Regions from separate parts of the Homo sapiens genome. Here all the other regions are linked to region 6. Evidence: promoter capture Hi-C in 16 types of primary human blood cells and fetal thymus (Javierre and others, 2016). All regions are on one chromosome and are shown on one strand. Each heading gives the region's core, a stretch centred on a gene start or on the middle of the fragment in contact. The rest is flanking DNA. Distances are from core to core; before and after follow the strand shown.

Region 1 (3,570 bases), core at 1,013-3,512, 800 kb after region 6:
CCAATGACATCCTTTAAATATAGCTCACTACATTAAAAACCATTCAAGTTCAATGAGAATATCAGCTATCAAATTGAATATCAATAATAGTTATATTCAGATGAGGGGATCAGAATGTTAAATTTCAAATGGATTACTAGACTATCAAACTCTTCTCCATCATCCTGGAGATACTGGCACATAATACACTTCTTCTTCTCTGAAAAGTGCAGTAAACAAAGTATAGTCATGGTAGGAATTTAAAATGATACATCAAGGAAATATTGATGTTGACCCAAATGTTGCTCTCTTTTTTAAACTTTCTTGAAGACCCAGAAGAACCAATATTTTATGACTCCCAGCTTAGATTGGCCCCCCACGTCTATTAAAATAGCCTAAAATGGCAAGTAAAGGGGTAGGCAAGTTGGAGATAGGTTTTATTTAATAGTCAACTTCTACCTAACATTTGGAACATTGATACCTTGTTGGCTGCTGGGATCTTCATAACGAGATAAGTGTGCGCGCACTGATACCAGGAAGTGTTCCAGCCAGTCTGAAACTATGAGACGAGCAGCTCAGGACAGCTAGAATAAGCCCTCATTCTCTGTGTAAGACTTACACAAGGCAGACATTCTTATCTCAGAATTCCTTCTCTGCCACCTGATGCACTTCTTGACTATTTTTTTCTTATCATTAATTTTACGGCTTTATGAAATGTAAATTAATTTTAGTATCAGATTAGGAAAAACTGAAATGAAAACATGGAGTCACATATAGTGCATCAGAGGATCAAATAAGGATACTTTTAGGTAGTTTTTGCCATTGCTTTCTTTCTTGAGTGAGGAGTTGATTGCATTCATAATTGATTTATGTGTTTCCATTTCACCATTGAAACATTACCAGGTCATCAACGATTCTGCCTTTGGTCAGAAAGCTTCTCCTGCTGTCACTCTTATCTAATCTTATAATGAAAAAAAATGGCATGTTTTTGGATAAAAGCTGGCTTTCTGACTGCATTGGATGGTTGGCAGGAACTGGAAATAAAACAAGCTATCCAACAACCACATTACTAAGAAGGCAGGCTCCTTTTACAAGATTTATTCCTAATTCTTTTGGGGTGAGAGAGCAAAATATGATAAGAACGAGGATTGCTTCTGATACTAGTTACACTCTGCTCGCCTCTCTCTTGTGCTCTGTCATTATCTCATTAATTCCCTGGGACCCAGCAAACACATTTATGTGGATGGTTCTGGCCCAGCTCCTGCTCTGCCCTCCAGATCAGCACTTCAGCCTCACACTTGACACATCCACCTGGATGTTCTGCCAACAATGCTGGCTCCAAAGTGTGTGCACCTCTGCCCTCTCCCTGCCTCCCTTTCCCTTGCCTTAATAAATCTCCCTTCTCACTTTTCTATTTCCTGTTGGCCACCATTATCTGTCACCCATCACTGAAGTCATGTATGGGTTCTTCTTTCATTGCCTCCCACCTAGATTCTCTATCAGCCTCCCTTCCAAGTGAAGCTCCTGTTTTACTGTGTACTATTGTCAAAGTCTCCAGGCTGTCCTTGTAGCAATCAGTTCTATGTTCTGTTTTAAGACGTGTCTACCCAGAGCACAGCTGTCACAAGCTACCATTGCCCCACATGGTGCATTTGTACAAATCAGGAAAGGCATCCCATCTTCAAGACACTTGACTTCCGTGTGTCAAGAAACTTCTCATTATATAGTACACTTATAATGACTAAAATACGGTCCTACGAAATATAGGTATCAACAGGGTCACCAGGTGAATGACACTGTCTAAGATTTTGCAGTGCACAATCTGCATACAAGACTCCAGGCAGCCCTGTGATCCTGTCATGCCTCAACTCCATACATTAAATGACCCCTCATCACCTGTGAAAATAAATGCAGACCCGTTAGCCTTGTGAGGAGATGCACCACACCTGGCTTCAGCCTGCATCTCCAGTAGTAGCTCCTATGCCTCACCTCCTCACATACATCTGCTCCACTCTTCCGGCAAACTTTCTCAGGACTCACACTTGCCTGTCATCACAGCTTTAATCATCTATCTGCCTGGTACATCCTTCCTCCATTTTTTCAACCTGTAAATATTTCACCCATTTTTCAAATGTCATTTCTCCTAAGAAGCCTTATCTTTTCTCCACCCCAAATAGGAAGTGAGCAATTTCTCCTTTGAATCCACTGTACTTTGTTTATACCTCAGTTACAATATGCATAATGTATTGCCTTTTATTATAGTTCCTGGCTCATTTGACTGATATGTGCCCGATGGTAAACTCTTTAAGGTAAAGGTTGTGTCTCATTTTATGATTTCTTCAGCACCAAGTTTAGGATTTTATGCAGAATAACTTTTTAATTCACCTAGTTGAACTAAATCAGTAAGTCTTGCTCCCAATAAGTTGATTGATTATAAGCATTCCTATTCCTTGGGAATCTTATCAAAAAGAAATTTTTTATTTTCTATTCAATTGCCAAAAAATGGAATTATAATTATGTTTCTGGTCTTTATATGTGCATTGTATTCCATTTGCTTTACTTCTACAATAACTAGGTAACCTTCCTGGTCTTAGATATATAACCCATAAGATATATGTTCACTATTGTATTTTGCTTAACCAAGCAGGATTGAATATGATTCTTTCTTTTCTTTGTTTTGTAAAGTTAGTCTATCCTTGATTTTATAGGTCTTCATTTCCCAACATCTGTACTGTATGAATAAGACAATTCTTATAAGAGGGTGAAAGTGGTTTCTTATTTTTTAAAAAACTGCTATTTTGAGAGCAGCTCACAAGTAATAATATGACAAGAAGTATTTTTGGTCTTACACCTGCGGAGACTACTATGCCACTGTGGGTTTTAAAGAGATCAAAATCTCAACTGAGTTAAGAGCTTTTAATTCTTTTTATCACTTTGCTGTTAAAACTATACTTAGTGGTAAGAAAAATAATAATTATTTTTATTAGATTTGGATTAATTGATAAATATGTGATAAATGCATGGCTTTTAAAGATTACAAATGTTTTATGGGACCCATAGATTCCTAGATTCCTAGACCTGTGTCAAAAACTAGACCATGGATGGCAATTAAAGATGGTGATGCTCAATGACACAGAGATATAAATGCAAATGAAGTTGGCAATATTTATATTCTAAAACCACCTTAAAGCCCCTGCTATGTCATACTTCCTCTAATGAGGGAGCTTAACAGATAAACACTGACCTTTGTATTCAATTGCCCTCTGAAATGAAAGCAAAGAAAAAGTTTGCTATTCCTCATAAACTAATTTTCTACCTTTTTATCAAATTCAGAATATAGTTTCCCTTTCTGTTTTGGCTTCCAGGGAAATCAGAGTTAACTGAGATTGAGCTCTTATTTTTCAGGCCTGAAAATACATGTAATCCAGATGTTGAGGAACTAACTCACATCGTGGTAATTTTAAACCACAGGGATTTAAAGGTCACTTGGTCTAACATTCCCACTCAAATCTGAAATCCCTCTACAGCTTCTCTGACACGTGGCCATTTTAGCTGCACTTGAATGTTTCTAGTACACACAGCTCATGATTT
Region 2 (3,557 bases), core at 423-2,922, 820 kb after region 6:
TATACAATGGGAGAAATGTAATGGGTTCAAAGCTGCCCAGTGGAGGAGCAGGAAGGAGGTGTTGAGAACTCTGAATAATGGTTCTCAACATATTTTTTCTTAGATCTACTTTCTGGAATGCTGTTTCCTCCTATTTTGAGATTATGCTAATTTATGTTGCATTTAGTATATGCCAGCAACTTCCATGACTTTAACCTTCAGTCCTCACAGAAACATTATGAGTTGAAGCTTTTATCTTCTTTCACTGATAAGAAAAGGGAGTCCTAGAGACATTCATTAACTTGACGAAGTTCACGAAGGTAGTAGGTGGTGGAACCAGGCACTGTGTTAGTCCGTGAATGTACGTAGATTAACGATACAAAGATGACTGCATCAACTGGTGTAGGCATCAAACATGTAAATGAATCTTGGTAGCACGTTTGGCTGGGACTATTATTGAGGTTTACACACATAGGATGGCCATTTAACTAAGCGTTATGGAAGACTTCCTACAGAGATTCACACCTGAGTTGATTCATGAAGGATAAGCAGAAAAGTTAGACAAGTGAAAAAAAAAAAAAAAAGAGGAAGGGAAAGAAAGGGTATTTCAGGGCCTAGGAATAACATGAACAAAAGCACAAGGGCAAGCTGAAATAGAATGTTTTGCTCCCTGTTTTAGGCTATTTCTCCAGTTACCTACAAGTGACCCAAAATTTCATACCTTATAACAATAGTTATCATGCTCCTAAACCTGCAATTTAGCAGGACCTGGTGGGAATAATTCATCTATGCCCTGTCTGGCATCATCTGGGATAGCTCAAAGGCTGGGACTGAATCAACTGAAGGCTCATTTACATGTAAGTTGACATTGGCAGCAGGCTGAGACCCAAGCTGGGTCTGTGGGCTGATAATCCTACACAGTCCTGGATGGCTCATGTGGCTGGGCTTTCTCACAGCATGTCGGCTGGGTTGCAAACATGAGCATCCCGAGAGATATAAACCATGTGGAAGCCATAACACATTTTAAAATTTATTTTATTTTTATTGATACATAAGATTTGTACATATTTATAGGGTGCATGCAATATTTTGTTACACAAATAAAATGTGTAATGATTAAGTCAGGGTATTTAGGATATCCATCCCACAAGCATTTATCATTTCTATGCACTGAGAACATTTGAGGTCCTCATTTCTAACTATTTTGAAATGTACAATACATTCATAACACATTTTTGACTTAGCCTTGTAAGTTAGGCAGTATCACTTCCACCATATTCAATTTGTTGAAACAGCTGCAAAATGCACCCAATTTCAAGGATAAGAGAAAAGCCTTCAATCCCGAGAGGGCATAGCAGTGTTTTGGAAAAGCATGTAGACCTGGAAATATGGCTGTGATCATTTTTCAAATATACAATATAGTATAACTCTAAACATAAAAGAACAATATAAAAAGCAAATAGAGCCACTTTCCATAGCTACTGTGTCTTTCTCGATATAATCACACTATTAGCTGCATGAGATCATTGATTGACTCATTGCTTACTAAGAGGGGGTTACTAGCTAAAAGCCAAGAAAAGAATTTAAGTCATATGCCAGGCATCAGCATGAGTTATCCATACAGTAGGCTAAGCACAGGAAATACTGTCATCACTGCACAAAATGCTTGTTGTGTTTTCTTGGCCACATGGCAAATAACCATTCATAAACTTTCTGTAACAAAGACTAATCTAGAAATTGTGTCAGAAGGCCTTGAATGTATTCTTGCAATTGAAAGACCATTTCAAGCTATTTGTCCCAGCCACCACAGGGACCTCTTTTACTAAAGGCAGTGTTAATAAATCTTGACGAAAACTTTCTAATGATTTTGCAGAGCCGTTTCAGTAAAGGTCCTTATTATTTGTGGAAATATCTTCAAAATGACTTGAATCTTTTACTTCATTTCCACGTCCAACAATCATAGCTCCATGCCATTTAATTGTAACAGATTGTAAAATGCTACATCTTACAAGGCCCAAAATGCAAACGGCTCCATACTGCAGGTCATGTCAATGAACTGTAAAGTTGCTACACCCTGGCAACTTGGAGGGACACTAAAATGATTAGAACCATCTCTTCTACAGTCATTAATTCTAAATCCTCAGCTTCTTAGTCACCGCCTCTCCCCTCTGTGGGCTCATCAGAGACCCAACAGAGAAGCAATTGATTCTTCTCTGTCTCCCACAGTGATGAGAATAGACATGATGGAGAGCATATGAGGACATAAGCCCTTTTACCACAGAATTTACATTCTAGAAGGAGTGACAGATGTTACGCAATTACATAAGTATGAAATATAAATGAAAAGGGATAAATGCTGTGATGCAGAAGCTCCTGGTTCTATGAGAGTGTATTGTAAAGAAACTGATGCACACAGAGAGACAAGTAAGGGGAGAAAAGGGGGAGGAAGAGGGGATGGAGACAGAGAACAACTCAGGCGAGAGCCTGAAGCAGGAGGCGCGTGATGAGTTCAGGGAACTGAAAGAAGAAAATGGCATAGCACCAGGATGCTTGGACCTGTGGCCCTAGATGACCTGGGGGGCCCTTGTCCTGAGAACAATGAAGGGCCATTCACAAGGTTTAAGTCTCCAGATATTTTAATTCCTTCCATTCAGGAGCATGTCTTCCTCAACGAGAGATAGCCATGTCAGGGTAGCCCAGTCATTTTTTTGTGTTCACCTTACTGGTCTTCTGCTATAGTTTGTTACCTGGACACTGTAGCGGCTGTCCACTTTCTGTAGTGTATGTGTTCTCCCTAATACGACTCTTCCTTTCTCCTGGATCTATACACCGCTGACACTTCATCTTCCTAAAGTGCAATTTGCATCACATCACTCTCCTCAGAAACTTTCAGAGGCAAATTCAGGATGGAAGGTAAATTCAAGCACTCCTCTGTTTTTTCTGTTCCTATACCATCTGTCACCCTCACCAGCAGCTCTACTCTTCCCAGAATGAATCTTCTACTTCACCCAAATTGAGTATTTTTTCCCACCATCACACAAATGCTCATGGCATGCCTCCTTCTTGAAATGATCTTGCTTTCTTCCTACCCTAGTCTTAATCATCCATTAGAACAGCACCTGAGTCCCACATCTCTAGAAGCTTCCACAGCCAGTGCAGTTTACATTTATTTCTCTCTCTGGATCTGAGAGCTCTTGTTACCTCTGTTCTTCATATTTGTAAGTGGTCATAAATGAATGCACACTCTTGTGATATTCTGTAACTGTTTAGATAGGTTTATCGTGCTTCTATCAAGGACACAAGTTTTTTCTTATCAGAAGCCACATGTTCTATATTACTCATAGCTCTTAGTTGAAGGGTAAACTTCAGGGAAGAGGACAGCAGTCATTCAAGGATCTACACATAAACACTGTAGAATGAGCCATTCTATTTCATGAGCAACAATGACATCTAGTGGCTGACAGGTTGCATAGCTTCTTCTGACTTTAATAATCGGACAAGGCATTCAGAAAGAGAATATTACAGAATAATTAATGAACCCAAGTTATTCCCACCAACTACACTGCTTATGAAGGTAT
Region 3 (3,607 bases), core at 174-2,673, 850 kb after region 6:
TACTTCTGTAAAAGGAAGAATAAGCCAACAGATGGCTGTATTTGTATTATGCCTTCCTCCTTGGTGCTAAAAGCAGTTCTGATCCACTTTCAATGAGAAGTTTACTATTTGAAAGCTTATTAGCTTTTTCAGATGCTTAGGTACTCTTTAATTAATTTGTAATTCCACTTTAAAGTTTAAAGCCATATCTTTATAATTGTCTTTATATAGGGTAATATGTTATAGGGCCTAACAACTGAGACTGAGTCACAACCATCTCTATAGATCCATAATAAAATGATAATTTATAATTTATGAACATAACTGTGATCTTAAGACAAGGTAAGATCCTCAAGTATCATCCCAAGGAAGAGTAAATTATGCTTAATACAATTTTAATGATGAATGGATTTTCAAAATATTCTAATTTTTTGTAACTGTTAATCCAGTTTGTGAAAGCTCCAAACTTTGTTTGTTTCGTAAACTAGAAAACCCTATTCCCTCAAACTGCTGGCTAATAAAAACTACTGCATCAGTTTTTTAAAGAGAAAACAGCATGAGATAGATTAAAAATTTTCACCAATTCCAGTCAAATGAATGGCAAAGTAGGAATATCTAATATCCTGACAAACAGTGCATTTTCCGTGGAATCTGACTTTCCTTCTTTTATTCCAATTCTAACACTTTCATTAGCTCCAAATCTAAGCCTAGAATGAAGCAAGGAAGTTATAAATTCAATGACAAAATTTGAATCTATGAACTGCCTAGCCAGAAACTTCAATTGGAGTGGGGGGCTGGGCAGGGCGAAATTCTGAGATGCTTCCTTTTTCAAACTGTGAGAGATGTGGGATGTAAAGAATGCTGTATATCAACTAAGTGATAAAAGTCACATAGCCATAATACATTTGTTAAAATTGTATTTCAGAAGAAGTAAATTGTAAATAAGATGGAAAATTCAGAAAGAGCTGAAGAAATGCAAGAAAATTATCAGAGAAATGGGTAAGCTCTCACTAAGTTCTGTAAGTATGCTTCCACAACTTCAAATATAACTCATCCTTTCCACACCTATAGCAAAAATGTTTATAATTTTTTCCCAAAAATAGCAACACTATTTGCATTTTGCTGAACTTGAACATAAGCAGTCTTATAATTAATTTAATAGTGATTTTAGGAACTGCAATAGGATTAATTGTAATAGGATTTATTTATCCAGGATTTATTGATTTAGTGCTTCAGATATCTCCTCTTCTGAATTTCTCATCGTTAATTTCTTGTCCACCATTATACAGAAGAAAGGCACCTGCAAATTTTAATTTCAATTCTCTGTGGACCCTTCATTCCATGTGGTACCTTTAATAAAAGAAAATATTCGATTCCGATTATTTTCTCTCTGAATAGATGTCTCTGTGAATATGTATGTTATACAAGTTTCTACACGTGGAATTCATTAATTGAGAGTTTTTAAATGGAAATAGTTTTACATCTATTTTATTTCCACTTTTACCATAATAATTGTGTTATATTTGGACATACAATCTATAAAACTGGAGAAGATCCCTCCAGGTCATGTAGTTTATTAATTCAGAAAATAGCCAGAGAGGGCATTCCAGCGATACCATTTTCTTGTGAGTCAGAATCAGAAACTTCCTTAGGCTAAAGCAAATTCCATTTAGGAACATTTTGAAAATCAAAAGAACTGCATTCCAAACTTCTCCTTTAATGTTTTTGTTGTTATTTTCCCAAAGTAAATGTTCTCCTTTCTAAGCACCTTTTCCTCATAAATTCAAAACATTATCTAAAGATGCCCCAGCATCCTGGTGTAAGGGGATGCTGAGGGGACAGGTTTATTTTAGAATACATTTGTGCTCTTAAGCATTACCTGTGGACTGACTAAATCATGTGTTCGGCATATATTCCACAGGAAGCATTGTAACTGTACAGTTAAGAGTTTGGGTTCTGGCGTCAGACTGAAGTTCAATCACTAGCTACATAAACTTGGGTTGTTTTACCCTGTGACTGTTTCTTCATCTTTAAAGTGGTCATGATAATAATACACTACAGACCTCATTGGTGAACCAAAAAAACTAACAGGTCAGTAGCAATACCAACAGCAAACTGCATCTATATGCTATCGCACAGAAAATTAGAATGGGGAGGTGGTTGATTTTTCTAGTTTCCATGACTGGAGAGAATAGGAGAAAACAATATGAAAGAAAATAGCAACAGGAATTGAAGGTAGGGGTTGGATGGGCCCTGAAAAGTGAAATTAGTGAGATATAGGTGTGGGGTCTGGCCATGAAATACAGGAAGGATTCCTATTAGGTGGAGGTGACACAACTGGAGCTAAGAGCAGAATCTTCGCTGCTCTGGGCCATGCTGATTTGCGCTAATGAAAGTACTGGGCCACCAACATCGCTAAGATCCCCTCCAGCTTGAAAACCAGCAACGGGCACGCTAGGACTAGGAGCTAGTGCGGCTGTGACCCGCACAATGGAATCAGTTTCCTCTGGGCGCCTCAGGCTCCGCCCTTGGCCTTTGCCAAAGGACACTTGGCCCCAAGAGCTGTGTAGAGGGAGGAGACCCCCAAACCCGCCCACCTGCCCACATGTTGCTTTCTTATGTCAACGCTGATAAAGAGACTTTCACAAAACGACCCAAGCCCTCCTTCGAAACCTTTCCATGAAGGTCAATCGGAGTTAGAAATTATTTCCCTGAAACAACTTTTATCAAGAGAAGAGGGTTTACTGGGTGTTAAGCTTCAAAATCCGCATCTAGAGGTGAGGAAAGGGATTGTAGGGTTTTGCAATGGTAAAGCATTCTTTTGTCATCTCATGCCTCAGCCCAGAGCAAATTGACCGGAACTCAAGTAAATTATTAACCTCATGTGGAATAAAATTAAGTGAATTGTCATTTATCAAAGCTGACAGAACAATGCGTTATAAAGCAGGAGAGGAGCCGGATGTTTGTCTTCCTGTTGTGTCTGTATAGAAAACTTAAACTGTTCCCTACAGTCTTCTCTTAATGTTTCAGAATTTTGCGCGTGCATGTGTGTGTGTGTGTAACTGACAGATTGCTGTGAAATCAGTGGATACAATGTACAGCTTTCATTTGGACCTCCTTGAAATGTGAGCATACAAAGCTAAGAAATGAAATTTTCAAAAAGGGAGACAAAATTAAGAGTACACTTGCTTAATGTGTACCTAATAGAACTCATTTCATTTAAAGCTCAGATTTTGTTACTAAAGGTTAAAAATTGCAATCCACCACTTCATACTCATTATGATGGCTAATACTAAGAAAAGAAAAAGGAATGAACAAGTGTTGGTGAGGATATAGAGAAACTGGAATCCTTGTTCTGGCAGGAATGTAAAATGGTGCAGTTGCTATGGTGCAGTGTGAATGTTCCTCAAAAAATCAATAATAGGTTTAACATGTAACCCAGCAATTCTACTTCCGGGTATATACTCAAAAGAATTAAAACCAGTGAGTTGAAGAGATATTTGTACACTCATATTCCTAACAGCGTTACTAGGAATAGCCAAAATGTGGAAGCAGTCTAAGTGCTCAACAAAACGTGGCAAAAACATATAATGGAATACTATACAGCCTTAAAGAGTAGAAAAATTCC
Region 4 (3,649 bases), core at 478-2,977, 900 kb after region 6:
TGCCTAAAAATAAACATGGAGGCCAATGGGACAGAATAGAAAGCCCAGAAATAAATGTATGCATATATAATCAACTGACCTTTGACAAGGGTGCAAAGAGTACACAATGGGGAAAGGATGGTTTATTCAACAAATGATATTGGGAAAATTGGATGTCCACATGCAAAAGAATGAAAACTGGACTTTTATCTGCACCATACACAAAAATCAACTCAAAATAGGTTAAAGACATCAGTATAAGAAACTGTAAAACTTAAAATGAAACTGTAAAACTCTTAGAAGTAAACGTAGTGGGAAAGCTTCATGACATTAAGTTTGACAATTATTTCTCGGATATGATGCCAAAAACACAAACAACAAAAGCAAAATTAAATAGGTAGGACTACATCAAACAAAAAGCCTCTGCACCACAAGGGAAATAATCAACAGAATGAAAAGGTAGCCTACAAAAAGGAAAAAAAAATTGGAAACCATATATCTGGTAAGAGATTAATATCTAAAATATATAAGGAACTCCTATAACTCAATAGTAAAAAACAAAAATAAAGAATAAATAACCTGATTTAAAAATAGGCCAGGAAGTTGAAAAGACATTTCTCCAAAAAAGACATACAAATGGCCAACAAGTACGTGAAAAGATTCTTGACATCACTAGTTATCAGGGAAATGTAAGTCAATACCACAATGAGATATCTCACACCTATTAGGATGACTATTGTTAAAAAATAAATAAATAAATAAGTGTTGGTGAGGATGTGGAAAAATTGGAACCCTTGTATATGACTGATGGAAAGTAAAAAGTTGCAGTCTCTATGGAAAACAGTATGGAGGTTCCAGAAATAATTAAAAATAGAATTACCATGTGACCCAGCAATTCTACTACACATACACACACACACACACACACACACACACACACATATGTATAAGAATACGCACATTAATTCCAATAATCTGGATATATTAATATATATTCAAAAGAACTGAAGTCAGTATCTCGAAGAGGTATATACACTCCCATGCTCATTGCATCATTATTTCTAATAGCCAAGATATGGAAACAACTTAAATATTTATTGGCAGATTAACAGATAAAGAAAAATATGATACCTACACAAGGAAATATTAATAAGCCTTTAAAAAGGAGGAAGTCCATATGGAACAACATGGATGAATCTGAATGACATTATGCTAAGTGAAATAAGCCAGTCGCAGAAGGACAAATACTGCATGATTTCTCTTAAATGAGGTGTCTAAAACAGTCAGACTTGTAGATGCAGACAATAGGATGGTGGCTGCTAGGGAATGAGCAGGGAGAGAAACAGGGAATTGCTGTTCAGTGGGAATAAAATTTCATTTATGTAAGACGAATAAGTTCTAGACATTAACACTACAACATTGTGCCTATAGTTGGCAATATTGTATTGTATTGTACACTTAAAATTTTAAGAGGATAGATCTCATGTGAAGTGTTCTTACCACAAAAAATCAATCTGCACAATAACTCTAAAATAGAGGTAGTGTAATTTTCCCTATTATCAAATGAAGAATATAAGACTTAGGGGGTTAAAAAACTTGTCTAAGTCCTCCAAGACAGAAATTGGCAGAAACAAGATCCAAACCCAGGACTTGCAACTCCAGAAAACACAAATGATGAAATTATTGAATACTAGATTTGTCATTATAAAAGTCATACACTATAATCTATATATACTGCTTGCTGTTTTGTAGTTAATTACCTTGTAATGTATTAATTATTATAGTTACATCCATCATGATATTTGTCAGATTAACTGTATTACGAGTTTTTATTGAGACAGTGTGGACTTCACTCCTATATCATTAGTCTTCTTAGTCTGTTGTTCATAAAACTTGTTCAGCTATTCATGCAGTGTGATAATTTGCTTTTAAATTAAAAATATAAAGGGAAATTTGATCCCAGTCATATTATCTCAGTATATACTTTTAGAAAAGAGCTCCGAAGCACAGGTAGGGCTGCTAGAGGGGAGCATAACTGTCCATTCTACCTACTTTTTGTGACAGGAAATGGGGATTAAGGATACAGATTTAGAAGCTGAATAATAATTATAGTCTGATTTTTAGTATCAGACTAAAAATCAGTTATCAAAGTCCTGACATCTGTCCTGACTTGGATAAATGTTTAACCATCAAAAAATACTGCCCTTTGCCAGTAATCCAGCACTTTGGCAGGCAGAGGCAGGTGGATCACCTGAGGTCAGGAGTTCAAGAACAGCTTGGCCAACATGGCAAAACCCTGTCTCTACTAAAAATACAAAAATTAACCGGGTGTGGTGGTGCACGCCTGTAATTCCAGCTACTCGGGAGGCTGAGGCAGGAGAATCGCTTGAACCCGGGAGGTGGAGGTTGCAGTGAGCTGAGATCACACCACTGCACTCCAGCCTGTGTGACAGAGCGAGACTCTGTCTCAATAATTAATTAATTAATTTAGTTTATAAAAGTACCCTTTGCCCCTCTTTCTACCTAGTCCCGCTGTTTAAATGACTCCCTTAATATCTGTTATGTGGGAAAAACCAGCTGAAGTAGACTCACATTGAATCCTTTTTACCTCTGTCAATGATCAAGACCAGCTACATAGTTTGTGGGGTCCAGCACAAAATGAAAATGTAGAGCCTCTTCTTCAAAAACTATTAAGAACTCCAGAATGACAGCAGCAGAGCATTAAGCCAAGAGTCATGCCCTTCTAAATCTTTCTTACTTTTAAACCAAAGTGCAATACATGCACATTAAATAAAATTGGGAAAACTGAGATGAGAAAAATATAATCCATAGATCCAATAAGTAAGAACAGGTACTATTAGTATATTGATATATTTCTACATAGGTGTCTTTTTTATGGGAAATTTTTTTAAAACATAATTATAATAGGATACATATTTTTCCTGCATTTTTACAGGTAGCATTATATCATACATCTTTTCCACATTATCATTTAATCTTAATAGCCAATGCTTTGGGAGGTTCCCTTCTCTTATAGATTTGGAAAAAAGTTTGAAAGAAATTATCACCTGCTTCATCAAGTTTATCTATTGCAATGAAGAGACCTTGTGGAGAGAAGAGGGAAAACCACACTGGGTTTTAGTACCAGTCCTTCCAGTGACTGGCTGAGGCCCTGAACAAGCTTCTTAACTTTCTGAGTTCCATTTTCCTGCTCTATAATAGATAAGAATAAGAAAAGTAAATAGCAGTAACACAGTAATAGTATGAATAGTAACAATACTAGCTGTCGATTGTTGATTCCCTGGCAAATCTGTAGTGCCAGAAGTGTCAGTTATTGTGCTAGGCATTTACAAAACAAAAACAAAAACAAAAACAAAAACAAAAAAAAACACATTACCTCAAGAATAGTCCACAAAATCTTTCAGAGGAAGAATAAGCTTGAAGAGGTAAACTAATAGTTTTCAATACCTGTTTTAAGTCTTTAGTAGTTAAGACAGCATAGCATTGGTGCAGTGACAGACAAGCTGACCAGCCCAATAGCAAATAGAATACAAAAACAGACACAAAACAATTGTCACCTGATTTATGGTAAAGGCAGTTCTGCAGTATAGTAGGGAAATGATGGTCTTCAAAATACGCTGCCGGGACACCTGGTTAACTCTATGGGGAA
Region 5 (4,001 bases), core at 1-2,500, 870 kb after region 6:
GCTGTGTACTTCTTTATGAATGGAACCTATGGACTTGCTTTTTGGTATGGAACCTCCTTGATTCTTAATGGAGAACCTGGATATACCATCGGGACTGTTCTTGCTGTAAGTCTTGTTTGAGAACAAGGTGTCAGGCCTGGATAATCTTTCCTTACCTAGTTTAGCCAAAATTCCTCTTTGAAGATAAATATTCAAAGATGGATGTTTTTATTAAACAAATATTTGTTTCCCTCAAATTATCTGTATACACCTTTAAATTATAGTTATGAATTGACAGCATTTATTCATCCAGCATGTTTTAGTGTCCTCGCTGTGTCAAGCATCTGCATTCCGCTTTTGGAAGAATCATAATTGAATTCCCCACTGGGAAATACACTGAGTTTTGTTAATCTAGCAGTGAAAAAGGCCATTCTCTTGTGAGACTTTTCCTTTCATCTGGGCTGAGATCAGACGGAGTTCTGCATTCACCTTGCTAAATGTCTTCTCTCTGGAAATGGTCTGTAGAGTTTACACTCACCTCCTCTTCCTCTGTCCTTTCAGCATGTAGTAATTTAAAAAACAGACTACATATAGCTCTGTCCAGTATCACAGTTTGGAGACTTTTAAATTCTTATGGGTTATGTGTTAAATAATAATTTATTCAGTTATCCTCTTAAGTTACAATAAACAGATCAGTTCAGGATTAAGAAACATTTGTCTTGAGGAACCAAAATGATCTGCTCTTTATACTTTGATCCTTGTTTGGCCTTTCCATTCTTACAGATTTCTCTTCTTTCCATTAAATTCATCTTTTGAATTTGAGGCATTCATAATTAAGACTTTTAGCTATTCATTTATTTCATATAAAGTGAAATGTGAGCATGAACGATTTTTCACTCATCCTTGCTCCTCAATTTATGTGTGGCTGGGTATCTGGCTTACTAAGCCTAAGCATCCTCATCTATATGATAGGAGTAAGAGCTCCTAGCTTGAGGGATTCTTTTCTTATTTGACTTTTTGCAGAGATGAGTCTGTCTTAAAATGGACAGCTGTCCCCTAATACAAAAATTCAAAAACGGTTTGAGTGAAAACAGTACAATGTCTCTGAGCCAATAAAATCTACTGAATTTTTCTTTTTAAAGTTCAAGGGGTCACCCAACAAGGAGGGGAGTGCAACTCACCATGGGGTTTATACATGGTCAGCACACTTCAGTTAGCAGATTTTTCTGGTCACACATCCCAGCATGTGATAACCACAAGACTATGAGATAATCAAAAGTTGTTCCTTATTAGGAAAAGGCCAAGGATACTTGGATTAATCTGTGTTTCTATTGCTTCTCGGCCTTTTGGCTAAGATCAAGTGTAATCTGTGTTCTTTTTTATTTGGTCATATCTTCCATTCTTTCTTACCTAATTCCTCTAATATCTCTCTGTGAGCCTAAACCAATAATTATATATTACATTCTATTGTCTTTCTTATATAACTGCAGAAAGATAAATATCACTTTGTTTGTTCCTGTAGGTTTTCTTTAGTGTAATCCATAGCAGTTATTGCATTGGAGCAGCAGTCCCTCACTTTGAAACCTTCGCAATAGCCCGAGGAGCTGCCTTTCATATTTTCCAGGTTATTGATAAGGTAAGACCTCTTATTGCTTTGAAGAATAACTATCATTACTGCAAGAAGGAGACAAAAAAACATACACCCTCATTTTCACTAAAACAATAGGATGGACAAATTTAATGTTGGCCAGTTGTTTATGGGAAAGAGAGACTGCCTTTAATTCTTTTCTAAGAGGAGATTGTGTTGTATTGAAACCTTCATGTCTAACTCAATGCACTTCTAAAGCAGAAAGGAAACTGTCATGGAAGAAAACCATCCTTATACTATTTTTAAAATGTAGAGACTGTCAGTTTACTCCTTTGAAGATTTATAACATTTCCTTTGTTTTTCCAAGAAACCCAGTATAGATAACTTTTCCACAGCTGGATATAAACCTGAATCCATAGAAGGAACTGTGGAATTTAAAAATGTTTCTTTCAATTATCCATCAAGACCATCTATCAAGGTAGGTTAAAACAAATTACGCAATTGTGCAGTTTTCTGATATTATCTTCTACTGGCCAAGATCTTCTCTGACATGATTACTTAGGATCACTTTTTTCCAAGATTTTGGCTACTTTGCTTAGAGACTTGAGGAGGTAGATAAATAATGGACAAATAACTCTGGATCAACTAGTTATATTTTGCAGCATTCTTTCTATATTCAACTGACTAAAGCATTTTCAGCTCCGTGAAATTCTTCTACTCTGGGTTTGGGAACACACCTAAATGTCTTGGGTTGACGCTGCCACCTGTTGGTGGTTCCTAGATGCTACCCCACTCAACATACTCATTTTAACCCCCTCCTCTCTAACCTAGGAGAATTATGCACATGTGCCTTTCCCTTCTTCCTTTCCTGGGGCTTTTACTGCAGCAGCAATTGCGGCTAGTACTTTATCGCCTTTACACACACGCACACACACACGCAGTTTATCGTACTCCATCATTCAGTCTTTGACAAGTTCTTGTGAAAATGTGTGTCTTTTTTATTGTCTTCCCCCTTTCACTTCATTAGTGTATTTACCAAAAAAGTAGTTGTTGTTAAAGATTGCACAAGGCGATTACTAATAAAACACTGGCTTCATAGAAAAAGACATGATTTTAAGTGAAATAGATAAAATTACTAGTGTGATCAATTTCTAATGTCTGCTACAGAATTTGTATAAAGACCTACCTACTCCTACTTCCTTATTTTTTTTCTGATTAAAACTTTGATCGAAATTCTCTTTTCAAAGCTCTTTAGTTTTGAAAGTTGTTACTTAATTACCGATTACCATTATTGGTATAGTATTGACTTCCACCATTTTTCTTAACTGTACAGTATTTCAAACTACATTTTGCAACTGTATTTGGATTGGCTTCCTAGGGACTTCAGCACCAATTGTGCCATTATATTGCATGGGAAAGTGTTCTTTGGGTTTTAAACAACTATTTTTAAAATGAACTTTTGAAACATAACCCTTTTTGTTAAACTAAAGAATGAAATTTTGGGGGGGTCCACCTATTTTAAATAAATAAATTCTTTCAAGGAATGACCAGAAACCAAATCTAGAGTAAAAGTGCAGGTGTGAGAAGAGGTACTCCTACTGGTGGTCCCCGATTTCTCACCTCCTTCAGAGAACTTTTCTCGGCTTGGCCCTCTGAAGGTTTTATGTTTGGCTTATGCAAAGGGTCCATTGCTTTACAAATGGTGAGATCAAAGCAAGAGAATTCAAAGGGAGATTCCCCTGTTTAGGGCTAACTACATACAGATGCAAGCAAAGATAGGTGAGAATTTCTCAACAGGATCACTGTTGTCATTTCGAGAGGGTAATTATTGTGAGGCTTCAATCACATTGCAGGTCCCTGGCACACTAAATGCTGTAGCAACCCCAGTCATTGAGAAAATGTTTAAAGTGTTCCCTCATGGGTCACCATGAGCCCACCAAGGTTTCTAATGATAAACTCTCATCTATCGGGAGCCACTAAGAAACTTTGCCAGCTGTTTTCCTTTAGAATATGCTTTGCAATTATGTTAGTATGTCCTAAGGAGGAGCTTCATTAAATAGCTTGTGAAAATATCTGGCAAGATCTCATTTACTTGTTACAAATTAAGACTTTCATTAACTTGATAGTCAAAATTCATATAAAATATTTTAGTTGAAAATGTGAACAGTTTACTAGTTAATATTCTGAAGTACTCTTAATTTAGTTCTCTTTACATAGAGAGATAATGATAGATTCTTTTACTACTATTTTCTGAAATTATTCAGGCTATTACTACACATGTACATGAAACAAACATAACAAGATCTAAATTTGTTTTTAGAAGAATTTGTTTTTGGTTATAATTATGTACTCATTTTCTGAAAATGTGTCCATCATCTTCTTATTGTGGTTTTATGATTTTCCCTCCATACATTCCAATAGATTCTGAAAGGTC
Region 6 (4,022 bases), core at 291-2,790:
TATTGCCCAGGGATAAATGCATAACTATCCCTGCTTGTTCCCTGATACAAAAAAATGATGGAATACTCTTATTTTGATTTTCCTTGTAGAAGGAACAAAAGATTAAGTGAGCCTGCCCTTGACAGGTGTGACACCCCCCTCCCCCCGCCTCCCAAACAGCACCACTGGGCAAAGCAGCCTTTTGTAGAATCAGCCAGTGGAAACTAACCCCCCACCCCCACCTTTAAACAAAGCCATTTAATTTGGTCTTAAGCCCAAGTAAGAAACAAAACAAAACAAAACAAAACAAAACAGAAAACGAATAAAGGACAATATAAAGAAGCATAGCTTGTCAGCATGAACCTACATGCAAGCCAGAGATCTATGATTTTGTTTCCCAGGGAGGGAGTGACTAATGCGCGCACCCTGACCATCACCGTAAAGAGGTAAAGAGAGAGTGAAATGGCTCAACGTACACACACCCCGCTCCATACCGGGGACGAGTCTCCGAGCTGCGGCTTGTGCTCTCGGAGGGCCAGGCTGAAGCTGACCGCCCCCACGGCCACGCTGGACACCCCCAGCCCTATCTCCAGCACGGAGAGCACCAAGAGGCTCCCAATAATCTGACCGCTGGTGCACATCCTTCCTCGGTCATCTTCCTTCCAGATCAGAGAGGGAAATCAACCATCTACCTTTTTTTCTTCCACTATCCTCCTTACCCCTTCCACCCCCTACCAGATCCCAAAACTTTTCTTTCTTCAAGAGCGAGGCATTATCCACAAGGGCTGGATTTCCAGAAACGAAGACCTTCCCTGGCTGGGCCAGAGGCAAAGGAGCTGCTCCACCCCCTGGCACGTTCAGATAGGGATCGTAGAAGGATCTTCCTGGGTTCGGTGGTGCGAAGATTGCACACCGGTACCGGGGCTTTTAAGCAGCGGAAAACCTGGAGGAGCCCAGGGAGCTCCGAGCCTTGCTCCCCAGGCGCTGTCCAGAGTTCTGCCGCGTCCCAAATCTCCGCAGGGAAACCCGCGCCCTCCTCAGCCTACTAGACCCTTTCACAGGGTCCCTTCTGTTTTATTGCCGAGGAGAGGAGCTTTGCTTCCCGGAGATCCAAAGGGAACCGCTCCGAGTTTCTCTCTCCCTCTCCCGTTCGTCACCTCTCCTTTGTTTTCGTGGCAATGCGAAGTGCTTCTGCAAGTCTCTGGGTCCCCAGGCAGAGCGGGCGGATGATATTCAGCACCACGCTCCTTGCAGTTGCTTTGTCGCCAGAAAAAGCGACCTTGTCTGATGGCCTCTTTCCGTCTGGGTTTCTTCTCCCTCGTCGTCGTCCTCTTCCTCCTCCTTTCTCTCGAGCTGATTCTCTTTCATTGCTATGACCTCATTGGGGTTTAGGAGGTTGACGGAGGAGGAAAAAGCCTAATGTATTTGTAGATCCAGGACCAGTACTCTTGGCTGGCCTTTGATCCGCCCCGCCCCCGGACCGCAGCAACAGAAATCCAGGCGACCCCTACCTCCGCTTCTCCCCGTGGCTCCTTTCTGGGCTTCTATCCAGCGGAGAGGGGAGGCGATGCCTACGTCAACGCGGGCTCATTCTGAGAAAAACTTTCTTTAGCTTGTACGCGGGGTAGGGGGAGCAGTGAGCAAAGAAAGACGGAAACCCCAGGGGGGTGGAAAAAGCCAGACTCCTAATGTCACTAGGACTCTCAAGGCCCCTCACCAAGGAACTCCCCTGTCTAGGAGAGCTAGATTCAAGCCTGCTTACAAGGAATGTCCACTCCCGGCCATCACAGCCTGTCACCTTCCGTGTCGTAGGGCGAAGAAGCAGTTGATGGGGGCCACACCTCCACGGTGATTTTGTTCCTCTCCAGCCACAGACCCTTGCTTTCCCCTAGGAGCGTGACCACACGTTCTGGGAGGCATAGCTAGACCCAACTGAGCTGGGATTATATATTCTCAACAAAATTCAAGAGATGTGTATGCATTAGAACAGGCATTATTTAAAAAAAAAACACGTCTGGCTTAATGCACAATTATTTTTGACAGTCTACTTTCATCAGAATCTTTAGGGCAGGGGCCAGTCCAGCTTGGCCTGGGATATTTTTGCATTGTCTTTTGATGCCTATGAGACTCTAGATGTCTAGGGATCGCTGTGTTTAGACCCCATTTTCATTACTCTAGTTTTATGAAAAATCTCAAGGTATTCTATCAAGGAGATCTAGGAAGTGGGATAAAGAGAGGGTTTTGGGTGTGGGTCATCTTTCTCAAAAACTGGGTTCTCCAGTTCGACATGGACTGAAGGAAAATAGAACAAAGGAAGATGAGGTTAGGGTACAATAACACAAGACTAGGGAATGTTGACTTCTATACATCAGTGCAGTGCAGGCGCCTCTATTAGAGGCTTCTTAAAGCTCCCATGATGAGAACATAAAAGCTCGGTGACCTATAGCATAAGTTCTGTAACATAAATGCCAGTTTCAGTTTTCTTAAATTTGATTAAGGGCTTCTTTTAGAGTTTAAACTCAATTCTACACTATAATTTTTTTCATATGTTTATATTCTATAATTTAAAAATTTGAATCCTTTTCTCTTAAAAATAAAACAAATGTAAGGAAGAAGAGTTACAATTTGTTAGGCCTTAAAGAGCTTCAGTTATTGTGATATTTGGAGTACAAATAAACATTGGTACTGAATGATAATTAGTGGATTCATTTCTATGCTTTTAAATCCTCAAAGACATGCTAAAGTACCTCATTAGTGTATGGCTTTAATGATGTAAAGTTTATTTAATTTAAATAATACAGAAGTCATCTAAATGATCCAATTTATATGCATAAATAATACAGCATATATGTTGTTGAAGTTTTGCTTTGTGTTTAGTCACTTCTTTTCTTTAGGAAAAAAATGCTTCTCTGTTAGGAAGACAACAAGTTGTAATATTAAATGAATTGATTAATGGAGACATATAGGAAGGGAAATAAACTTTTGTAGAGAACACAGGGATGGTATTAACAATAGTTGAATTTCACAGAGAAAAAGAAACAAACAAAACATATATTGCGGTTAACATTTTATCTCTGAATGTGATGGCTTGGAATATAAGATTGGTTATCATATGCCTGATAAAAACCAATCCTGATTGATTCTGGGTCATTGGTTAGAAATCCAAAACTTTTGATTTTGTATATGGAAGAAATTCAACTCATCTTCACATAAGTAACTAACAATAATTCACAATAAAACAAATATTTTTACAAATAAAAACAATTATTTTCTATAGAGGAAACTGCTGTTTTGAGTTTTAAAACATGAGCATCAGTGTTAAAATTTTCAAAAAAAATTACGTTATCTTTATTGGGACACAAAGGATATTTTTTGTGCCTTTTAAATATCATGTAATGATCCTCCTAAGATAAATCCAAATACACCTAAAATTTCCTCCTAAATACAGAAATCAAGAAAAAAGAGTTCAAACTGACAAATTATTTATGATTCTTATTATAATTATCCCTCCAAATTATTTGCTAGACAAATAATTATAGGGTAAAAACTATAAATCAAGAAAAAATCATATGAAGCACACCACTATCCAAATACCAGTAGCTCCACAATTTCTGAATTTGATTTTTCTAACGCTGTAGTACACCAAAAGAGCTATTCATGAGATCCATTGATAGATAATTCAATATTTCCACAACTTTGGCAAGAGCAATAGCACAAAAAATCTCAAGTTTGCCATCTGCTGGCTTATGCATGATACAAGTGAATGTGAGTAGCCTCAAAATAATTCTTATTAGATGCCTTAATAAAAGAAAACATCTTTATAGTGGCTAACTTTAAGGACCTAAGCACTTCCAGTAAATATTCAAGAATTCTGAGGTTCTCTCATTCACCCATTTACCCAAATTAGATTATGGAAATTTTAGTATCTGGATGAAGGAAAATCCAGGAATGGGTAGACAGTACACTAATGTCTCCTGTCTTAATATAATAAAGTAAGTTGACAAAATCATCAATGCTGCCACATTAATATAGAGTTATTGAAA
Region 7 (4,114 bases), core at 1,209-3,708, 920 kb after region 6:
AATTAAATGTCAGCAAAAGATTTGAAAAGGCATTTTGCTAAACAAGATGAGCACATTGGAAATAAGCACACAAAAAGATGCCCAACGTGGTTAGTCATTTCAGAAATGCAAAAAAAAAATCACAATGAGAAATCACTATACACCTGTTAGAATGGTTAAATCTAAAGAGACTGACAGTACCAAATATTGGTGATGGTGGGGTGCAACTGGAGCTTATTTAGCTGGTGGGAGTATAAAATGCTAAAGCTACTTTGGAAAATAATTTGTCAGTTTCTTAAAAAGTGAAACATTCACCTACTAAATGATCCAGCCATTTCATTTCTAGATATTTGCTCAAGAGAAATGAAAGTATATGTCCACACAAAGCCTTGTATATGAATGTTCATAGCAGTTTTATGTGTAATAGTCTAAAAGTGGGAACCACTCAAATTTATATCAACAGGTGGATGGATAATAATTTGTGAGATAGCTATACAGTGAAATGCTATGCAGCAATAAAAGGAAATGATATGCTGATTTATGCCGCAGCATGGATAAATGGCAAAATAAGTATGTTGAGCAAAACAAGCTATCTGAAAAGGAGTAGATAATGTATGATTTCATTTATATAATGTTCTAAAAATGCAAACTAATCTATAGTGACTGAAAGCATATCAGTAGTTGCAGGAGGAAGGAAGGAAGAGGACTGGCAACTAAGAAGTGTGGAGAGAGGGATGATAAAAAAGCAGGAGAAAACTTCTAGGGGTAATGGATATGTTTATTATCTTGACTTTTTTGATGTTTTCCTGAGTCTGTAGCAGTGTTCAAATTTATCAAATTTTACATTTCAAATATGTGCACTTTGTTATATGAAAACTATAACTCAAGAAAGCTCTAAGCTGTATCAAATGAAATTTAGAATATTTTAGATATCACTTTTTAACTTTTTAATACTCGTCATATCTCTTTATGTCTATAATTTTATGTTTTTGTATGAGATTATTTTAACGCATGTACAACCTGTCTCATATTTAAGTAACACAGCCTATTTTATGATTTTACTGAAATTTTTGTTTTGTTTTTATCTTATTTACTTCTTTTCTATCTTGACAACACTATTTAAATGATACCATTTTAAATCTTTTATTGTGTATTTTCCCAGAGGCAAAAGAACATCTTTAAATTACCTATGTAATGTAGATCGTTCTATAGGAGGAAGATAGCCCTCCTAATTTCCTGGCTCTGTAATTTACTGGTGTCCTGGCACATGTTAAACCTTAATCTCCTTACCAAATAAGGTAATTTTGTAATGCACTTAGTTTCATGCTCAGTGCCTGATAGTTAGCGTGCAACTTTTTAAATTTTTGTACATTCTTTTGAACAGTGACCTAGCTGAAATGTTGTGCCCTTTTTGATGATGAGCTTTAGAAAACTTCAGCAGGAAAAATGATGGATACAATCAAATTATTAAGTAATCCAATATAAATGTGGGTTAGCCACCCTGAAAATGGACTTTAAAGGCATCAGAATTTCAAAGTTCTGTTGTCCAAACAACAGTCCGCATTATAGTGGCCACACTGAGAATAGAACGAGAATTATAAACTATTTTATAGTCTTACTTGAAGAATTCTCTGGTTATTAGGTCCATAAATGTCATTATTTTAAGAGTGAATGCCATGAGGAAGTTTTAATGAATGAAATACCAAAGAATTCACTGTCTACTTTCCTACTCAGAATAATTACTCACCACAAAGCTGTTCAGAAGAATTTTTAAGATTCTGAAATACACTACTTATTGCAGACAAGAGCCAAGAGAGATCGTTATCGTATTATTTATCCTCTGACCACTGTGACCACTACCTCCCCTTGTCACCTTCCACGTCTCCTAGGAAGGGCTGGCAGACCCAGAATGACTACTTGCATTGTGCTTTCTCTGTATAAAACCTGAAATTTTGTGTAACATAATCCTTCCTCTGTAATAACATCAGAAACAGCAATGACTGCTAGCATTTATTGGGTGTTTATTGTTTGCAAATACAGTGAGTTGCAAATGTACTGAATAAAGCTTAATTGTATAAACAATCCTACAAGATAGGAACTGATACCACTCCCCTTGGAAAAATGAGGAGACAGTCTTGGTGAGTTTAAATAATGTGCTCGGATATTGCAATATTTTGCTTGTAAATAAGAACTCCAAAACAAGCCAAGGTATTAGGAAAATGTTTTTGTAAATACATCTTGAAACTTTCCAACTTTCAAGTTTGAGATCGTAATGAAACTTTTACCTTCCACATTTTCTTTTCTTAGCTTCTGCCTAGATTTTTTTCTTATCCTGTAGTACAATATTCCATCCAGTTTAACAAGAGTAAAGAAAAATACACCTGCCATTTCTTTTGTGACCCTTAACAATTACATGTGAGTTAACTGTACTTTTTAAATAATAGCAACTGAGTGAAATGCCAAAAAGTGATATTGCACAAATAGTCACTTGTGGCAAATCTTCTTTTATTTTATGCTTTAGGGTCATCGTTAATAATACGGGCAGTGAATTTTTTAAGAAAAATATTTTCTACCCTGCTGTCTGTTATGTTTGATGTTATACATTATAATTCTGTTTATGATGGGCTAACTTCACTAGATTCTGTTATGCACACAAACTGGCATTTTTAACCAACATATTTTATTTTTAGATAAGTCTTCCTGAAGTCTCTCTATTAAAAATTTTAAAGTTAAACAAGCCTGAATGGCCTTTTGTGGTTCTGGGGACATTGGCTTCTGTTCTAAATGGAACTGTTCATCCAGTATTTTCCATCATCTTTGCAAAAATTATAACCGTAAGTAAAATAAATTTGCTAATACTTTCAGCAATTTAAAGAAAGTATGACCTGAGAGAACAAGCTTGTATCAGTCTAAACCACAAGGGGAAAATTGGGACTTTTAGTGGGCCGCCCCTAGTGTGGAGTCCGTGATAGGAAGGTTAATTAATGTTCCCAGGAGATAAGCCAGCATCTCTTGTAAAGTGTGTGGCCGGGCCTTGTTGACTGGGCAATCAGTGAAGAAATTGCTTTGTTTTCTAATTTTTACTCCAGTGCTGGATCAGCATTCCAAAACACTGAAGAAATAAAATAGGCAAATACAACTACTTTCCTTTCAATTAGTGGGTATAGTTGCAATTTCTTTTCTTACCAGCCAGCTCAGGGAGAAGAAATAACAAGAGTCTGGGATTTTGCTAAAGGACTCAGGGCAATTGGTGTGTTTAAGGATCTTACAAGATCCATGCTTACTCTTCAATGTTAACTAAAGTTCTAGCCTGGAACTTCAGTCTCCCTAATTTGCACAGCTATACTTTATCAGTATAAATGCCTGTGTATGTATGTTACTAATTTTTAAGAAAAATTCTGGGGGCACATTAAAAAGCCTCACCTTGCAGGTACTACTTAACTAGAAGACTACTAAGAAACTTGAGTGATCAAAAATTATTCAAAATAATAATTCAAGCAAACTGGTGGTTTCTTGGGAAATATACTGTGATAATAATAGCAGATAGATGACTCATTATTCAGATCTCATATTTACATAGTTTGAGAATTAAAAGCAAGTTATTTTTTATCATAGATAATGTATGCAGATGATAGCATCATGGTGCACTTTTTCCCACAGAAATGTGTGTATAGTTTTATTTTTATGTTGAAATTTATTTTAAGCTGGGTGCAATGGCTCACGCCTGTAATCCCAGCACTTTGGGAGGCGGAGGCAGCCGGATCACTTGAGGTCAAGAGCTTGAGACCAGCCTGCCCAGTATAGTGAAACCCCATCTCTATTAAAAACATAAAAATTAGCCGGGTGTGGTGGTGCGCGCCTGTAATCCCAGCTACTCGGGAGGCTGAGGCATGAGAATCACTTGAACCTGGGAGGCAGAGGTTGCATTGAGCCAAGACTGAGATCGCAACACTGCACTCCAGCCTGGGCGACAGAGCAAGATTCTGTCTCATAAAAGAAAAAAAAAAAAGAAATGTATTTTAAAACTCCTGATATACAGAAATTTTCACTTTTTCTGTTTCTTTTATATTTTCCCCCAAACACCTGATAAAAATCTGTTCCTTTTCAGATGTTTGGAAATAATGATAAAACCACA

What was found. The method cuts DNA at HindIII sites, captures the fragments that hold promoters and counts their contacts. A CHiCAGO score of 5 or more calls a contact.
Region 1: a contact is called between a fragment that was not itself captured here and the fragment with the promoter of TMEM196 in region 6, in 4 of 17 cell types (M2 macrophages, naive B cells, total B cells and 1 more). The highest score is 9.9, in M2 macrophages.
Region 2: a fragment that was not itself captured here is called in contact with the fragment with the promoter of TMEM196 in region 6 in 11 of 17 cell types (naive B cells, total B cells, monocytes and 8 more); the score reaches 13.5 in naive B cells.
Region 3: a fragment that was not itself captured here is called in contact with the fragment with the promoter of TMEM196 in region 6 in 9 of 17 cell types (M1 macrophages, M0 macrophages, M2 macrophages and 6 more); the score reaches 17.9 in M1 macrophages.
Region 4: a fragment that was not itself captured here is called in contact with the fragment with the promoter of TMEM196 in region 6 in 4 of 17 cell types (M0 macrophages, M1 macrophages, M2 macrophages and 1 more); the score reaches 12.1 in M0 macrophages.
Region 5: a contact is called between a fragment that was not itself captured here and the fragment with the promoter of TMEM196 in region 6, in 4 of 17 cell types (M2 macrophages, M0 macrophages, M1 macrophages and 1 more). The highest score is 10.0, in M2 macrophages.
Region 7: a fragment that was not itself captured here is called in contact with the fragment with the promoter of TMEM196 in region 6 in 4 of 17 cell types (M0 macrophages, monocytes, M1 macrophages and 1 more); the score reaches 7.2 in M0 macrophages.

Annotation. Positions count from the first base shown.
Region 1 is chr7:20,574,393-20,577,962 of GRCh38, forward strand. No RefSeq gene overlaps it. Among named protein-coding and RNA genes, the nearest start is that of ABCB5, 39 kb to the right of the region's middle. The HindIII fragment of the contact is 2,702 bases long and covers 912-3,570 here.
Region 2 is chr7:20,595,295-20,598,851 of GRCh38, forward strand. No RefSeq gene overlaps it. Among named protein-coding and RNA genes, the nearest start is that of ABCB5, 19 kb to the right of the region's middle. The HindIII fragment of the contact is 2,892 bases long and covers 227-3,118 here.
Region 3 is chr7:20,622,361-20,625,967 of GRCh38, forward strand. ABCB5 (ATP binding cassette subfamily B member 5) reads left to right here. Exons shown (of 28, transcript NM_001163941.2): 2 at 905-978. The coding sequence starts at 926. Among named protein-coding and RNA genes, the nearest start is that of ABCB5, 8.5 kb to the left of the region's middle. The HindIII fragment of the contact is 2,620 bases long and covers 114-2,733 here.
Region 4 is chr7:20,675,281-20,678,929 of GRCh38, forward strand. All of the region lies in intron 14 of ABCB5 (ATP binding cassette subfamily B member 5), which reads left to right. Among named protein-coding and RNA genes, the nearest start is that of ABCB5, 61 kb to the left of the region's middle. The HindIII fragment of the contact is 2,861 bases long and covers 298-3,158 here.
Region 5 is chr7:20,646,034-20,650,034 of GRCh38, forward strand. ABCB5 (ATP binding cassette subfamily B member 5) reads left to right here. Exons shown (of 28, transcript NM_001163941.2): 9 at 1-105; 10 at 1,502-1,615; 11 at 1,935-2,045; 12 at 3,989-4,001. Among named protein-coding and RNA genes, the nearest start is that of ABCB5, 32 kb to the left of the region's middle. The HindIII fragment of the contact is 8,939 bases long and covers 1-4,001 here.
Region 6 is chr7:19,772,077-19,776,098 of GRCh38, forward strand. TMEM196 (transmembrane protein 196) reads right to left here and starts at 1,541. Exons shown (of 5, transcript NM_001363562.2): 1 at 474-1,541. The coding sequence starts at 620. All of the region lies in intron 1 of LOC107986774 (a long non-coding RNA gene), which reads left to right. The HindIII fragment of the contact is 8,082 bases long and covers 1-4,022 here.
Region 7 is chr7:20,695,738-20,699,851 of GRCh38, forward strand. ABCB5 (ATP binding cassette subfamily B member 5) reads left to right here. Exons shown (of 28, transcript NM_001163941.2): 17 at 2,670-2,813; 18 at 4,088-4,114. Among named protein-coding and RNA genes, the nearest start is that of ABCB5, 82 kb to the left of the region's middle. The HindIII fragment of the contact is 833 bases long and covers 2,043-2,875 here.